Regions from separate parts of the Homo sapiens genome. Here region 1 is linked to region 2. Evidence: promoter capture Hi-C in 16 types of primary human blood cells and fetal thymus (Javierre and others, 2016). All regions are on one chromosome and are shown on one strand. The core of a region is centred on a gene start or on the middle of the fragment in contact, and the rest is flanking DNA. Distances in the headings are between cores, read along the strand shown. Region 1 holds the start of PDZD4 (PDZ domain containing 4). Region 2 holds the start of SRPK3 (SRSF protein kinase 3).

What was found. Contacts are between HindIII fragments. The CHiCAGO score rates a contact against its expected background, and 5 or more counts as called.
Region 1: the fragment with the promoter of PDZD4 here is called in contact with the fragment with the promoter of SRPK3 in region 2 in 17 of 17 cell types (M2 macrophages, naive CD8 T cells, non-activated CD4 T cells and 14 more); the score reaches 14.3 in M2 macrophages.

Annotation. Positions count from the first base shown.
Region 1 is chrX:153,829,121-153,831,866 of GRCh38, forward strand. PDZD4 (PDZ domain containing 4) reads right to left here and starts at 1,424. Exons shown (of 8, transcript NM_001303512.2): 1 at 1,119-1,424. The coding sequence starts at 1,178. The HindIII fragment of the contact is 12,640 bases long and covers 1-2,746 here.
Region 2 is chrX:153,779,439-153,782,290 of GRCh38, forward strand. It overlaps SRPK3 (SRSF protein kinase 3), which reads left to right and starts at 1,603. Exons shown (of 15, transcript NM_014370.4): 1 at 1,603-1,707; 2 at 1,778-1,908; 3 at 2,067-2,175; 4 at 2,305-2,392; 5 at 2,683-2,770. The coding sequence starts at 1,649. It overlaps LOC124905227 (a long non-coding RNA gene), which reads right to left. Exons shown (of 2, transcript XR_007068355.1): 2 at 1-2,852. The HindIII fragment of the contact is 52,875 bases long and covers 1-2,852 here.

The DNA.
Region 1 (2,746 bases), core at 174-2,673, 50 kb after region 2:
CAGGTGGCCAGAGGAGCTCGGCTCACAGCGTGAAGTCAGTCCCCGGATTCCTGGGAATTCTCCCCCGTGCCCAGCCCCTCCTTCCCCCGCCCCCGCCCCCGCCCCGGAGTTCTCGCCGATCCCTGCACGGGTTCCCCCACGTTCTCCCAAGCCAACACCCCTCCTGCAAAGCACTTGATTCCTTCCCAGTCCAGACCAATAAACCCGGGAGTTGAATCCAGGCCACTAAACGCATACCTGTCTGAGCCCTGTCTGCTCCTGGGTGCCTTGACCTTGACCTCCCTCCACTTAGCCCTAGGAGGTCTCAGCCCACAGCATCCGGGACATTTCTCTAGACAGTCTGCAGGGTGCACACAGAAAGTACACAAATGCGGGGCCGGGGGAGCCTCCGCGCACACAGAGACGGGGCACAGGAACGCACTCACGTAGTCACGCCACGCACAGGCAAGAAGCCCCGTTCCGGGCCGCGGGGCTGGGCTCCAGGTCCGAGCTCCGGGCCCCGCGTCTCCTTCCCTCCCCGCGGGGCCCTGCTGGTCCACGCCCCGCAAAGCCCGGCCAGGCACTGCCACCCGCAGAGAGCCCAACCCGCTGATCCCGGCGGCGCCCACTCACCCGAGACGCCTAAGGCCCGGGAGCCCATCGTTCGGGCAGGGCCAGGCGGGAGTGGGTGTCGGGGTGGGCACCCAGCCCCCGGACGGACTTGGACCGCGCCCGGGGACGCCCACGCACTCCCACGCTCCAGGCCCGCCGGGATCTAGATTCGGCGCCCCCCGCACGGCGGGAGCCTGGCTCCCTCCCCCGCCCTGGGTCCTGCGGGGAGAGCGTGTGCGGGGAACTGCGCTCGTTGCTATGCAACCTCCATCCCGCGCCCGCCGCACCGCGCCTCCCGGGACGGAAGCGCGCCCCACCCGGGCCAACCCCAACTTCCCACCCCACCCGTGGCTGGTTCCCACGGAGCGCCAACACCCAACAGCCCCAGGATGGGAGGGTGCGGACGGCTCCCTACCTTGTCCTCCTCGAGCCCTCCCGCTCTCCCACGCCCGCCGCTCCGGGCCTCCCCACTGGCCCGCTCCTCCCCGCGGAGGGCCGCGCCCCCGCCGCAGCGCCGGCGGCCCTACCTGCAGCATCACTTTGTACTGCTCCTCCGGTTTCTGGACCACGCACATATTACATCCCATGTTGCTGGCCGGCGAGAGGAGGCGGAGGGCGGGAACGGGAAGACGCCTTTCACTGACCCGGGCGCGGGACCTCGGGTCCCGGGCCGGGGCCAGGGGCCATACCCTGGCGCGGGGGGCGGGCCGCCTAGCGGGGGAGGGGGGCACGCCCCCGAGGTGGGGGCAGCGGCTCGCCCCTCAGGTTAACTCTTCGCTGGCCGAGGCCAGGCGCGGGCATGCTCCCTCGCACCCGGCCAGGAGAAAAAGGGCAGCGGGGGATGGGCGGGCGCGCCGGGCGTTGCCAGGCTACGGCCCCCCAGGGAGCGCGGGGGCGCGCCGGGCCGCCAGGGGCCGTCAGGGGCCGTGGGCCGCGCGCCTCCCCGCCCGCGGGGCCCGCCGCTGCCGCTGCCGCCTCCGGCTCCTGCCCATGGCCGCCAGCCCCGGGAGCCCGGCCCTCGCGCTCGGCGCCGCGGCCCGGCCCGCGACAGGGGGGCAGCGGCGCGGCGGCGGCCCCCGCCCGCGGCCAGGCCAGCGCCCGCGCTCCCGCCTCGCCCGGCCGCGCTCTCGGAGCTCCCGGCGCCCGCTCTTCGTCCAGCAGCCGCTGGCCGTCTCCAGCTCCCGCCCGGGACGACGGGCACGCGAGCGCGCCCACGGCGGCGGGGGAGGGGCGCGGGCACGGGGCGCACGCGCGCCGGGAGGGGCGGGGAGGGGAGCGGGGCCGGCTGCGGGAGGGAGCGGCGGGGGCGCTGGAGCCGGCGCGGGAAGCCGGGGGCGGGCGCTCGACGGAAGCGGGCGGGGGTCCTAGGCACCCCACGACACCCGGCGTCCGGTCCTGAGGGGCGGGCACCAGGCGCGTTGTCTGCGCGATGCCGCTCTGGGAGAGAGGGGTCCTGCCAGGAGGAGCAGTCTCCTGGGTCCCCCAGAGAGAGTCCGCGATTTCAGCCCCTCTCCCCGGTCTTGGACGCAGCAGCCCTCACGCCTCTGCTCCTTCCTCGGGCTTCGCCTTAAATGACTGCATCCCTCCTTCAACTCAGCCATTCCCTGCTGTCTTTGAAACGGACACCTTTGTTTAAAACAAGAAAGAAAGAGAGAAAGGGAGGAAAGAAAAGAAAGAGAGAAAGAAAAAAGGATGAGCGAAGCGTGGGGAGGGGGTGGGTCGTGGGGAGAGTGGCCTCGGAGGCCTTGGGACCCGGGCCTGCACACAGCACTGGCCAGCCTGGGCCCGCCGCCTACCTGTTCCTCAGCCCCAGCCCTCACCCGGTCCCCGCTTTCACAGCCCTTCCATCTCTTCCTCTTCTCTCCCACCACCTCCCCGTCTTCTTGGACAAGCCTGGAGGGAGAAGGCCTTTGCCTGGAAAGCAGCAGCGGGTGGAAGTCTGCGTTCCCAGAGGCTGCCCCGGCTGCAGGAGATCACTTGGAGAAATTGCTACATGCTTCATTTCCAGGTTTGGGCAAGTGAGGGAACCCCCAGCCACACGGGGCTGTTGAATCGGAGCCCTTCCTTTCCTCCCTGGCTCCTCGTTAGAAGAGAAATCAAGAATGGCGGGCCTGCCCAGAATGTGGAGAAGAGAGGCGAGTTTCTTATCCAGGGC
Region 2 (2,852 bases), core at 353-2,852:
CTGCCTCAGCCTCCCGAGTAGCTGGGACTACAGGCGTGTGCCACCACACCCGACTAATTTTGGTATTTTTAGTAAAGACAGGGTTTCCCCATGTCGGACAGGCTGGTCTCAAAACTCCTGACTTCAGGTGATCTGCCCGCCTCAGCCTCCCAAAGTGCTGGGATCACAGGCATGAGCCACCGCGCCTGGCCAGAAATGTCTTTTGACAAAGGGCCCAATCCCCAGCCCCTGCTGTTCCCTGCAGGAGCTGACTCAGTGCTCTCCTGACTGAGAGTCCCTCAGCCCCATGCCTATAACCTGCTACCCACAGACAAAGAGAGGCCATCAGGTACCCGGGCTTCACTTTCCCTCCCACTCTCTGACCTCGCTGGCCCCTCCAGCAATGCCTGGCCCACCCCTACCAGTTCACGGACCCTGGTACAGGGACACTGCACCAATATCTTGGGACAAACACCCTCTCTGCCGAGCCCCCTCCCTTTCATTGGGACTCCTCTGTCAGGCCCCAGCTGGCCTCCCGGCTCCACCCTCGCCTCTCCATTCCCTTGTCCTTGAAGTGGCCAGAGTGATCTTTTGCTGAGCAGAAGCTCAGTGACCACCCCCCAACCCCATATCACCCAAGCTCCACATTAAGCCTACAGACACCAGGCCTCTAGTCCTCGCCCTCGAACCATGCGGCAGCCGTGGCCAGCACGTGAAGGGCTGGAACGCGTCTTGGCCGCAGGCCTTGCCCCACTGTGCCCTGTGCTGCCCTGGATGCTTCTGGGGACCCAATTTCTCCTGGTCTCTCATGATGCAGCCCCTGGGTCACAGGCCCCTCAGTCACCACCGCACTCATGGGGAAGTGGCTATGGGCTTGCTTGTCCCCAGCAGTGAGCAGCTTCCTGCTGCCTCCCTCATGTCTGGCTATGGAGCAGCCCACGACAGGCACCTTGCAAATGGTGGAGAGGAAGAGCAGGCGCTGGGAGCCAGAGCGCCAGGCAGCGTCGCAGGAGCAGGTTCTGGGCTGGCAAGCTCCCAGGCCTCCCCTCAGCAGGCCTGTTGCCTCTGGTAGGGGAAATGAGGGGTCCCCAGTGACGCCACATTCAGAGGGCACTGGACTCCCAGTTGTCCTAGGGGCTGATGAAACATAGAAGAAGCAGGAAGTGGCTGGGAGCAGCCAGGGACAGGGTTCCCATGGGAATGAGAAGGGCACCTCCAGGAGGATGCCCACAGGGGCACAGGTGGTGGGGGCTTGGCCTAAGGACCAGGTTGCCAAGTGGAGCACATCCCCACAGTCCGCACCGGAGAACGGGAGCCCGACCTGGGGTACGGGCTGCTTCACCCCCGCGTGGACCTCCCCCTCAGCTGGGGTGCGGAGGCTCAGCCTGGGGGCCCAGTTGCCCCTGGTCCCCAAGCAGCAGCCCCCTCTGCCTCCAGGGTGGGCCTGGAGCAGGAGGGGGGCCTCTGCCCGGGGGCCGGGCTCTCTGGGGCCGCCGTCGCGCCGCCCCCTCCCCGCACCGCATACCTTGCCCACAGCCGAGCAGCTGGGAGGCTATTTATAAAGGCGGGTGAGATCAGCGGCCGGCCAAGGCTATAAATTCGCAGGCCGCGGCCGGGCCCCACAGGAGCAGCCGCCCGGGGCACCGGAGCTGCGGGCTGCGTGGCCGGGATGAGCGCCAGCACGGGCGGTGGTGGGGACAGCGGCGGCAGCGGCGGCAGTAGCAGCAGGTAGGGCTCGGCTGGGGCACCCGGAGCCCCTGGCGTCTCTCATGCCCACTGCCACTCACCCCACCCGCAGCTCACAGGCCTCCTGCGGGCCCGAGTCCTCGGGCTCCGAACTAGCCCTGGCCACACCGGTGCCTCAGATGCTGCAGGGCCTTCTGGGCTCCGACGACGAGGAACAGGAAGACCCCAAAGACTACTGCAAGGGTGAGACTTGGCCTTGGGGACATGCGGCCTCACGGCCACTGCAGGGACCCAGGGCAGTCCTGGGCCCACATGGGCCAGATGGTCAATGGGGCCGAGGTGTTCGGGGGCCCAGGGGAGTGAGAACCCCCTCCACCCCAATCTACATCTCCCCTGGGCAGGCGGCTACCACCCTGTGAAGATCGGCGACGTGTTCAATGGGCGGTACCACGTGGTGCGCAAACTGGGCTGGGGCCACTTCTCCACCGTCTGGCTCTGCTGGGACATCCAGTGAGTGCCTCCTTCGCCTCCGGGGCCCAGCACTGGCTGGGATCCTGTCCCTGGGCTTGCTTGGGGCCACCCTGATCCCCGCCGTGGGTCCTGCCAGGGCCACAGCCTACAAGGGTCTCGGTATTGCAGGCGCAAGCGCTTTGTGGCCCTCAAAGTGGTGAAGAGTGCGGGGCATTACACGGAGACAGCTGTGGATGAGATCAAGCTCCTGAAATGTGTGAGGCACCTCCCTACCCCACTCCCAGCTCCCCTGGAGCTGCCTGGGGCCTGGCAATGCGGGTGCAAGGCCTGCCGGGGCTCTGTGGGGCAGGGCGGGGCTCCCTGAGGGGCAGCCTCCAGCTGGCTGTGCCCAAGGGGGAGGATCTGGAGGAACAGGCGAGGGACAGGAGGGGTTGGCGGCCTTTCTTCCAGCAGGGCCCAGCTGGAGCAGGAGAAGGGTACACTGAAGGGAGCTGTGGGCTTCAGGGCAGGGTGGAACCATCTGTGGCCCCTTGGCTTTTGCTCCAGGTCCGGGACAGCGACCCCAGTGACCCCAAAAGAGAGACCATTGTCCAGCTCATTGATGACTTCAGGATCTCAGGAGTCAATGGAGTCCGTATCCTTTGCAGGAAGAGCAAAGCAGTGTGGCAGCCAAGGGCCGGCAAATGGGGGGGCCCTCGCTGCTAGAGCCTGTCTGC